2 separate regions of the Homo sapiens genome follow, and region 2 is linked to region 1. Evidence: promoter capture Hi-C in 16 types of primary human blood cells and fetal thymus (Javierre and others, 2016). All regions are on one chromosome and are shown on one strand. Each heading gives the region's core, a stretch centred on a gene start or on the middle of the fragment in contact. The rest is flanking DNA. Distances are from core to core; before and after follow the strand shown.

Region 1 (5,496 bases), core at 2,011-4,510:
TAAATGGACACATAATATTACAAGACTGGGCTGGGCACAGTGGCTCACACCCGTAATACTAGCACTTGGGGAGGCCAAGAAGAGAAGATCACATTAGGCCAGGAGTTCAAGACCAGCCTGGGCAACTTAGTGAGACCCCATCTCTACAAAAAATAAAAAAATTAGCCAGGTGTGTTGCCACTCACTTGCAGTCCCAGCTTCTCGGGAGGCTGGGGTAGGAGGATCACTTGAGCCCAGGGGGTTCAAGGCTGCAGTGAGCTATGACTGCGCCACTGCACTCCAGCCTGGGTGACAGAGCGAAACCCTGTCTTAAAAAAGGCTGGGGCCGGGCTCGGTGGCTCACGCCTGTAATCCCAGCACTTTGGGAGGCTGAGGCGGGCCGATCATGAGGTCAGGAGATTGACACCATCCTGGCTAACATGGTGAAACCCTGTCTCTACTAAAAATACAAAAAAAAATTAGCCGGGCCTGGTGGCGGGTGCCTGTGGTCCCAGCTACTCGGGAGGCTGAGTCAGGAGAATGGCGTGAACCCGGGCGGTGGGGCTTGCAGTGAGCCGAGATCGCGCCACTGCACTCCAGCCTGGGCAACCGACAGGGTGAGACTCCATCTCAAAAAAAAAAAAAAAAAAGAAGAGAGGGTAGAGCTTGCACTGGACCCATCAGCAAATTACTGGACATCTTAGCAGGCATGTGCCACGCAGGGAGAGATGGAAGGTCGGGGTGGAGACGCGAGTGAAGAGGGGGAAAGGGGCGGGCAGAGGTCTGGGGGAAGGGCGTTCTAGGCAGAGGGAGCAGCCCGTGCTCAGGCCCTGCAGTAGGAGCCTGGCCCAATCTCCACCCCCAAGGGCTCGGGAGCACTGGCCACAAACCGGGCAGAACCACTGCAGAGTCTCTGCAGCCCCGGGAGAAGATGGGAACTGTTCCGATCTCCATTTTGCAGAGGTGGAGACCGAGGCTAGAGGGACATCCCCCACGGTTACACAGGCAGGGCCTCGACTGGACCCCAGCTGGCATCCCTCACCCTCCAGGACTCATAGCAAGTGTCTCCTCCTCCGGGAAGCCTCCCTGGCCCCTGGCTTCGGTCCGGGACCCGGTGTCACTACTGCCTCTTCCACGCCGCTTTGTGACGATTTCATATTTCAGGCATCTGCTCCCTCTGTCCGAAGAAATCCCCCTTGAGGCTGGAAGCGTCTCCTCCTCCTCCCTCCAGCCCTTGGCCTGGTATACAGTAGGTGCTCAATGAACACCTTCCTCCAAGAGCCCTGAGAGCCAGCTATCAGGAGCATCACTTTACAGAGAAAGAAACACGTTCAGAGAGAGAAGGAGACCTCCCCTACTGGGGTCACACAGCACAGCAGCCCAGGGCCATTTGGTGGGGAGAGCATGGGGTGTCATGAAGTCCTTCTGGACCTCTCTGGGGCCAGGAATTGAACCATACCCGCCCCCCACAGCATCCTGTGGGGGGCCTGGCCTGCAGCCTCCCAGGGATGCGGTTTCTGGGCCTCCAGCCAACGCGACAGTCTGGGAACAGAGCCTGCTTGAGTCACAGGTGGCTGCGTGAGTGCCAGGCCACCGCCAAAGCCACTGGGAATACACAGCTGGTGGGGAGGACTGCAGAGTGGGTGAAGGGGGCAGACAGGGCAAGGTTACACACACAGGTTCCCGAGGCCTCCTTCTCACCCCTCACTTGGGACAAATGGCATCTCCCAGCCTTGGTTTGCTCATCTGTGAGACAGGGAGGCTAAATGTGGCTTTTAGAAGATGCAGTGAGGGGCCGGGCATAGTAGCTCACGTCTGTCATCCCAGCACTTTGGGAGGCCGAGGCGGGTGGATCACCTGAGGTCAGGAGTTCGAGACCAGCCTGGCCAACATGGTGAAACTCTATCTCCCCTAAAAATACAAAAATTAGCCAGGCATGGTCATGGGCGCCTGTAATCCCAGCTACTTGGGAGACTGAGACAGGAGAATCGCCTGAACCCGGGAGGTGGAAGTTGCAGTGAGCCAAGATTGCACCACTGCACTCCAGAATGGGTGACGAGAGCAAAACTCCATTTCAAAAAAAAAAAAAAAAAAAAAAGACAAAAAAAAAGGTAAAAAACTTTCCATGAGCACTCGCAGTGCACTTGGTGTGTGCGCTGCTGTGTGCTAGGCGGAAGGCACATTGGGGAACAAGCCCATTAGACAAACTGAGAGGCTCCAAGCTGCTCGATGGAGGGACAGAGAGAAAGGCTGTCCAAGCTGGGCACAGCGAAGATCAAAGGCCTGGGACTGGAGGGACTTGGCCTGTTTGAGGAAGGCTGAGGGGGTGGAGCCCGGGAAAGAGTGAGTGAGGACAGGCCAGGGGGAAGGAGGTGGTGCGGCAGACCAAACAGTGCAGGCAGCCGGGCGGTGGCTCACACCTGTCATCCCAGCACTTTGGGAGGCCGAGGTGGGTGGATCACCCGAGGTCAGGGGTTTGAGACCAGCCTGGCCAACATGCTGAAAATCCGTCTCTAATAAAAATACAAAAATTAGCCGGGCGTGGTGGCGGGTGCCTGTAATCCCAGCTACTTGGGAGGCTGAGGCAGGAGAATCGCTTGAACCCAGGAGGCGGAGGTTGCAGTGAGCCAAGATGGCACCGCTGTACTCCAGCCTGGGCAACAGAGCAAGACTCCATCTCAAAAAAAAAAAGAAAGAAAGAAAGAAAGAAAGAACGAAAGAAAGAGAAATTCCAGGGTAGGTGGGGTGCAGACGGGACCCTCACGGCAATAGGGAATCACGGCAGGTTCTGGAGCCCAGTGGCTAAGCTTCCTCTGAGGGGCTTCCTCTGAGGGCCACATAAGGAATGGGCCTGGGCTGGGCTGTGGCAGATGTCCAGGTGCAGATGGTGGCGGCCTGGACTAGGGGTGGGGGACGGGGGGCAGAGGAGGCGATGGTAGCTTCCAGAAGGTTCCACACGGAACAACCTGCTGCACTTGGGGTGCCCCTGCGTTTATTGCACGGCACGGCCGTCTCCGCAGGCTCACCCAGGCCGTGGGGACAGGAGGTCCTCGGACACGAAGCGCCCGGGATGCGCACGGAGGGGTTCTGCACCCGCGCTCCCAGTGTCCCCGCACCTGCGCCCACGTGGCCTCTCACACCTGCGGCCCCAGCCGCCGCGCACGCGGCCCAGCGCAGCCCCCGCGCGCCCCCGCCAGGCGCGCCGAGGAGACCGGCGGGCGGTTGCGCGCGGCGGCGGCGCGCACGGCGGAGCCCGGGAGGCGGCGGCGGCGGCGGCGGCGGCGGCGGCGGCTGCTCGTGTCGGCTCCGGGCGGCCCCCGCGCCGCAGCCCGCGCCGTGTCCGCGGCGGAGCCGCCCAGGTGAGTGGCCGTGCCGGGGCCCGGCGTGGGGCGCGCCCGCAGACCTGGGGACCCCTCACCTGCACCCTGCGACCCTGCCGCCCAAAGCCCCCAACCCGCGACCCCATCCTCAGCCGGGGGAAATTGCCCCGCGCACCCCTCCCGGGCTCATCGCTCCTTGCCAGGCCCCCGACGCTCCCCCTGGAAACTTTGGGGGCGAACTCCCCACCCTGGGGCCCCCCGCCCCTCCTCTGGGGCGCCAAGGAGCGGGGAATCGGGTGGGCATCTCCCCGGGGCACTGGGGACGCTGGGAGGATGCGCTCCTCTCCAGGAGGAGATGAAGGGGGCACTGGTTGGGTCTGGGGTGTGGGGAACGTCCGAATAGAGCCTGCAGCCCGCGCCTTCCTGCCCTGTCTCCCCCGAGCCGGGTCTGGTCCAGCCTGGGGGTGCGGAGCTGGAAGACGCAAAGGGTATCTGGGGTCCACACCGGAGCCTGCTCCATCGCTGGAGCTGACGGCCCGGCCTGGCGGGGAGGGACCTGGGGGCATAGGGCTGAGTCCCCCTGCTCTGGGGGCGTCTGAATAGCACCAGAAATGGTGGGCCTGGGCACCCTGAGTGGGTGCCGCCACCTCCCGGGCCTCTGGGGCCTGGCCAGGGGAGGCCCTGAGTCCCATTCAACAAGTTTAGGGGAGCAGCACCTCGTGCCTTGGTCCGGGCACAAGAAAAGCCCCGGGTCCTTACGCTGGAGACCACCATGTAACTGGGTTTCTCAACGTGTGCTTGGGGCGCTAACGGTGCCGGTGTCCCGGCCCCCCCAGTTCTGAGGAGTCAGAACTTCTGAGGCGATGTGCCCCAGAAGCTGCATTTTAGCAAGCGGTCCCTGGCTAAACCATGGACGCAGCGAGGCTGCAGACACCCTTGCTCCGGCGGGGGTGGGGAGCGGGCGTCTGCTGTGCAGTGGTATTTGCAGAGGGACGATCTGGGGCTTGGCTGGGGGGAGCCTTCAGGGACAACAGAGCTGTGAGAACCAGAGCAACCCAGGAGGGCTCCCTGGAAGTGGCCTGGAGAGGATGCAGAAGGTGTGAGGTGTGAGTGGTCAGGTGGAGGACGCAGGCTGGAAACAGGTTCAGGGAGGGTGGTGCTGGCTTTATCAGGAGGCTGGTGTGGGGTGGGCTGCCGCGGCATGGCCTTACCCTGGCTGTTCTCTGAGCCGAAGCAGCAGCCATCGTCGGAGACAGGATCTGAGTGGGAAGAACCCACGGGCTTCCCCTGTAGACCCAGCTCCTGTCCCCATCTCGATGATGTGGGGTGGCAGGAAGGGGGCAGCCGGGCGGTGGGATGGGGGCTTAGGAGGGTTCAACTCAGCCTTCCCTGCCCTGCCTGTCTGGTCTTCACCGGTGACTTCCGGCAAATGACGTCCCCTCTCTCAGATCCACCCCACATGGGATTAAATGAGATGCTGCCCACCTCGGCTGCAGTGTGGTGCCACCATAAAACAGATGCTCAGGTCACGATGGTTACGGCAGCAGCCCTGCCTGGCCTCCCTCAGCCTCAGCCGTCCACCCCCAGGGTAAGCCGGGACCTGAAGGTGCCTTGCTGAGTGGGAATAGAAGGCAGTTTGATGTCTCTTCCCACAGCACTGTCATTCCCCGGCGCCCCCTGAGTCACTACCTCGTCACCAGGTAGAGCCTCTTGAAGAACTCTGCGAGCAAAGTTGGCCCCGGGTGGGCCCCATCAAGCCGCCCACCACCACATGTCAATCTCGGGCCTCCAAAGAGCGCCCTTCACCCTCTAGTGGGGAGCTGGGATTTTGTGGGTAGGAGCTGGCGTCAGATCCAGGTTCAAATGCTGACTGTCTGCAGCTAAGTTGTGCAGTGAGCTGGGGCCCACTCTGACCCTCAGTCTCCTTCTCTCCAAAACGAACTTTATTATTCCCCCTAGTCAGGGCTGGGCTAGTGGGTGAAGTGGCCGGTGTAGACAGTGGGTGCTCCAAAACTGGTTCCAGATCCAGAGGCCCTGCCTGCAGAGGGCAGTCCACGGCCCCCCGTGTACAGGCTGGGAAGGAAAGTGGGTCGGGAGGCCCCCAGCCCCTCGAGGGGTTGACGGGGACTAACAGCAGATGGAAGCTAATTAGGGCTTAATGAATTGTCATGGATGAAGCCCCGGGAGGGCCTGGATC
Region 2 (5,496 bases), core at 1,554-4,053, 350 kb after region 1:
CGTCTGTGGTGCCCACGTGACCTCCCGGGCACACACTGCTTCTCATCCTTGCGGGCCTCCAGGCTGGGCAAGGCACCCTCCTGGGCACAGGGCCACTGGCCTGCTCTCCGTGTAGGCTATCCCTCCTGACACGGTGGCCCTCGGGCCTGTGGGGCTGCCTGGAGGGAGGTGGGGCCTGCGTCCAGGTTGCTTTTCTTTCTAGCCGCCCCTGCCTTGCCCTCTCCACAGCCGGGGACCCCAGAGGCCCAATCCCGCCCACCAATCTCCGGGTGGCACCGTTTAAGCCACGCAGCATCAGGGCACGACCGTCGAAGGGGGGCGCCACCACCAGCCTTCCCTCTGCAGAATCCCCTCCTCCTCCCTCCTTCTCTCTTCCAGGTGAGCCATTGGCTTGGTCAGTTCCTTCTGCTGAGAAACCCTGAGTGATGTGTGATTAACTGAATTAACCCATCAACCGCCGCCTGGCCAGGTTCATCGAGGCTGAGCCCTAAATTCCGGAACGAGCCTCCTGGGGCTCTCTGGGGTGTCCTCCTGGCCCGGAGACAGAAGCTTCTGGACGGCTGTCTCACAGCCCCCACGGATGTGGGTATGACCCACGGCCCCGTGTCCCGATGCTGGAGTCTGTAACCGCCACCTCCTTAAACACTCTCCCATCCCCAACACTCAGTCTACCCAGATGGGACTGGACACACCCCACCCAGCCCCTCTGTGGAGGGTCAACACCAACCACTGAAAGGGCCAATGCCGCAGGGTAAGCGCCTGTGCCACAGCCACAGCTGCCGGGTCTGAGTACAGAGTGGCCTTGCCGGCTAGGATGCGTGGTCTTTTGTTTTTTGAGACAGGATCTAGCTCCATCACCCAGGCTGGAGTGCAGTGGCAGGATCTCGGCTCATTACAACCTCCGCCTCCCGAGTTCAAGCAATTTTCCCGCCTCATCCTCCCAGGTAGCTGGGACCACAGGCATGAGGCACCATGCCGTCTGATCTTGGCTCAGCTACATGCGTTCTGGCTTTTGCAGAACAAAAAGCACCAAATCCCCATCCCAGCTGCACCTGCACAGATGACAAGCCCCAACCCCCAGAACCTGTGACGTGAGCGCTGCCCTGCTGGGTCTACCCACTGCTGGGTCTAGGGCCCCACTGCTCCTGGCATCCCCCTGGAAGCCTCCTTGTGCGACCCCCGGCCCCTCGTCTGGGTGGTGACCATCACCTCTCAGGTCCTGGCTCCCGCAGGGCCTCTCGGCACCCCTGCCCCATGACCTGGAGGCAGGAGGATGAGAAAGGGGCAGGCCCTGCACTCAGGGACCCAACGCTGTCGGGAGCTGGGGTGAAGGCCAGCCCGGGCTGTGTGCCGACCCTGCTCCGCCCGGCCAACGAGCAGGCTGCCCCGCTGGCGTCTGTTCTGATACAGTGGTCTTGGCTGTTGTGGCCCAGGCAGGTTGGGGTTGCTACTTTCTCTCTGGCCCCCTGGATGAGCACTGGCCTCCCTGTGCCCGGCCTCAGGGCCGGCCGGGAGCAAACCCCACTGTGCCCTGCAGAGCTGAGCCACACAGATGCACACCCGGCTTTGCAGATGGAGCCCGGAGCCGAGCAGCAGCCTCCTCCGGTGACAGCAGTGGCACGGGGGTCCGCTGAGCACTCCCTGCACCCTCAGGGCTGGATCCCGCCTCCAAGCATCTCACGACAGCCCCTCTGAGGGGGTCGTGGGCGGACAGCAGAGGGAGGGCCCAGCCACACCCACCCTAAGCCTGACATGGACGGAGAAGCCCCTGACCTGGGCGCTGCCCCCGACTCGCGGAGCCTCGCCCAGGCACACGCCCACCCCGCGGAGCCTCACCCTGGCACACGCCCACCCCGCGGAGCCTCGCCTCAGCCTGAGCCTCAGTGGGGGGCGCTGACCCACAGCCGGTGAAGGGCAGCCCAGTGGAAAACGGGAGCACTGCTTGCACACCTGCCGCCCACGGTGGCCGCTAGCCCACATCCCCCACCTCAGGAGTGGCCCCGAGAGTCACCGCCTGCGCCTGAGGCCCTCGCAGCAGCAGCAGCAGCAGCAGGAGGGCAGTCAGAGGACAGGCAGGGCCGCCACCCTGGGCTGTGTTCCGTGGGCACAGGGCGGGTGCCCAGCTCCCCCTGCCCCCACAAACAAGAGCCGCCACTCCAAGACTCAGCAGCTTCCGAGGGCGCAGATCACTCCCTGGAGGCGGTCACCACTCGGTCAGGGCCCAGCACCCGTCCATCACCAAGGAGGAAGAGCCCGGCCTCTTCTGGGGCTCTCCGAACCCCAGGGGGTGCCCAAGGGAAGCCAGACAAGGCCGGGGCCTGGAAGGAAGCGAGGACGTAAAGGCTGGGCACCCACAGTGCCCACGCAGGCCTGGGGGTTGGGGGCCTGCCCTGTTGCCTGAGGGCCACAGCGAAAAGCAACAACCCCAGGGAGGGACGAAGGGACGCTGATCCTCACCCAGCCTCCACCCAACCCACGCAGCCACGATTCCGTCCCAGGGGGCGAGTGCCGGCTCCGGGTCACACGCCAAGGATGGCTCCCGGGCGCCAACGAGGGGATTGCAGCCATCCCACAAGGGGCTGCTCTCTCCCCGTCAGCTCCCATCCCCTTCCCCAGCCCTAGCCTCAGGCTGCTACCTGCCCTGTTCTTTTCGGGGTCCTCCATCTGGTCTGGGCCCAGGGCCAGTTCCCTGGGGAGGGCCCCGGGAGCCCCCTTCTCTGACTGTCTCCACTGAGTGATGTCACAGTCCCTGGGCTGACATCACCACACAGCCCTCAGCCCAGAGCCCAGGGCAAAGCTGAAGGGAGGCCAGGGACCTCACTGGGCTGGGCAGGTGCAGGCCACCGCCGTCCCAGTGCCCTCAGAGGCACCTAGACTCATGTGGACCCGGCCGCAGACCGTTCTGGGCAGCTCTGTCCAGGCCGGCCCTGCCCTCTGACCTGGGGCCGCAGGGGCTGGCCACTGTGGGCTCGGTTCCCTGCCACCCCAATTCATCTGCACCCCAAGGAAAGAAAATGAGGGGTTGCAGCGCCCCAGGACCCAAGAGCCCCCGAACACCAGGGCAGCACATACTTCCAGTGCCAGGGCCACAGCAGAGCGGGGCCAGGCCCAGCCCAGTGACGCAGGGCAGACGGAAGGGCGCCCTCCACAATGGAGGGGCGCAGGAGCTGCCGCGGCCAGGACAAACCAACCTCAGGCTGACCTAGGCCGGTAATGGGTTTAACGCATCAGGTGCAAAAGAGAAACACCCCACAAATCAGGGAGAGGAGGGAAGCCGCCCACCCCATGGGAGGAAGCTGAGGAGTGAACGCCAGGGATGGGCAGGGCCGGTCCTCGGAGCACTGCAGACACCAGACCAAGGGCGACTGTCATCACCACGAGAAGGCCCCGTCCATGGCAGAAGCCAACCTCACCGCGCCGACTGCACCGGAGACGCCCACGAGGACAGCCGGCCTCTGAGAACGCAGCTGAGCCGTCACAGGTCGCCATCAGCAAAGGCAAGAGTCCAGGTAAAGAACACAGGAGGGCCACAGGTGATCGCGGTACAGCGGCCAGGACCGGACCCTGATGCGGGGGGAGGGGGCAAGGCTGCACAATGGCAGCTGGGACCAGACCCTGTTGGGGGGATGTGGGGGACGGCGAGGCTGTGCAGGGACCCCGTCCCACAGGTCAGCCTCGCCCTGGTGATGGCACAGACCACAGGTGAGGGCCACGGGCAGAGCTGACCAGGGAAAAGCTGGCACTCACCCAGCACCGGACACATAAGGCAAACACCACCGGCAGCCTTGGCGGAGGGCACTGTCCCTGCAACTAGTCCACATAGGGGCAATTTTCCCAAAATTCAGATTATGCAAACGGAGGCAAGGCTGCCATGGACTCCAGAGCCTCAGACGCCATCAACAAAAGCAAAGTGGACACATCTGCATCAAATCCATCACAAAGACGGCCTTCCAGACTCCGGGGGAAGTGAGAACACCCCCACCCAGGCCCCCATGGCGCACAGGCCCCCACAGCAACCCTGCGCCACCTCAGCAGCCTCAGCTCTGCTTCCTGCTCCGTGGCCCGGGGGCAGAGCTGACCTGGTCTTGCCAGGGGGGCAGGGGTCCCCGGTCCCAAGTGGTGCCACAGACAGCGGGGGGAACGTGCAGGCAGAGTCAGGCACCCCACCAGGAAAGAAAGCTCCCACGGCAGGTCCCGGGGGCGAGTGGGACCCGGGGTGGCTCCCATCGGAATCCTGCTACATCTGAGAGGACACGGGTCCTTCCAGAAGCGTAACCATGAACGGCCGTGGAAAACCTGGGTGGGCTGCGTTTCTACATTTCCTTTGTTTTTTTTTTCAGACGGAGTCTCGCTCTGCCACCCAGACTGGAGTGCCTTTTCCCCTCATCGTGTGGGAGCCGCCGGGCGACATCCCGCCCCGGTTTCCCTCCACTCGAAGGCAGTCACCTCGGTTGCCAGCTCCTGCCTCTGTGATGATCCCCACGAGGGCTGCAGAGTGAAGGGCACAGCAGGGTTCGGCCTAACTCCCCGGGGAGCCCTAGGCGAGAGGGCTTGGTCCTGGGGAGCTGCCCAGGTCTTCTATATCCCCTGGCCTCCATCCAGTCCCGCACGACTCAGCTCCTGGCCCTGTGCACCGGGCGACGCCTGCTAGGCGCATGACCCTCAGAGTCAGGCCTGTACTCACCTCAGCATCTATCAAGGGCCTTCAAGGATCGGGTTTTTTTAATCATCGTCAAATATATCGTTACTAAAAAGATACGTACACTTTGGGAGGCCGAGGTGGGAAGATCACTTGAGGTCAGGAGTTTGAGACCATCCTGGACAACATGGTGTAACCCCGGTCTCTTCTAAAAATACAAAAATTATCCGGGCATGGTGGCGGACGCCTGTAATCCCAGCTACTCGGGAGGCTGAGGCAGGAGAATCACTTGAACCCGGGAAGTGGAGGCTGCAGTAAGCCAAGATGGCACCACTGCACTCCAGCCTGAGCGACAGAGCAAGACTCTGTCTCAAGAAAAAAAAAAAAAGTTGAGCACGTGGAAGCATCCCGCCCTCCGCCACTCGGGCATCATCAGTGCTCACAGGCCGCAGATGACACACGCTATCGGCGCACTAGCTTCTGCCCCCTGGGCCCTCGTCCAGCCCTGCACCCACTGCCCACTGAGGGGCCAAGGTGTGCTTGCTGTCCTGCAGTGACCATCACGACCCCTTTCACACAGAAGGGTTGGGCTATCCCCGAAAAAGACATGCCAAGTCCTAGCCCCCAGTAAACAGGAACACGGCCTTATGTGGAAATGAGGATGGCCCCAATCTCACCACTTCTCAGCTTAAGGTCCTGTTTCATGATGTTGAGTCAGAAAACAGCAGAGAATGGCCGGGCCCGGTGGCTCTCGCCTGTAATCCCAGCACTTTGGAAGGCCGAGGCGGGTGGATCACGAGGTCAGGAGATCGAGACCATCTTCGCTAACACGGTGAAACCCCGTCTCTACTAAAAAT

What was found. Contacts are between HindIII fragments. The CHiCAGO score rates a contact against its expected background, and 5 or more counts as called.
Region 2: the fragment with the promoter of CSNK1G2-AS1 here is called in contact with the fragment with the promoter of LINGO3 in region 1 in 1 of 17 cell types (neutrophils); the score reaches 5.1 in neutrophils.

The regions. Positions count from the first base shown.
Region 1 is chr19:2,305,918-2,311,413 of GRCh38, reverse strand. It overlaps LINGO3 (leucine rich repeat and Ig domain containing 3), which reads left to right and starts at 3,260. Exons shown (of 2, transcript NM_001101391.3): 1 at 3,260-3,338. The HindIII fragment of the contact is 8,822 bases long and covers 2,789-5,496 here.
Region 2 is chr19:1,951,856-1,957,351 of GRCh38, reverse strand. CSNK1G2-AS1 (CSNK1G2 antisense RNA 1) reads left to right here and starts at 2,803. Exons shown (of 3, transcript NR_033400.1): 1 at 2,803-3,509; 2 at 3,846-3,966; 3 at 4,341-4,825. The region is part of intron 1 of CSNK1G2 (casein kinase 1 gamma 2); the gene reads right to left. RefSeq lists an enhancer at 1,471-2,422. The HindIII fragment of the contact is 8,344 bases long and covers 552-5,496 here.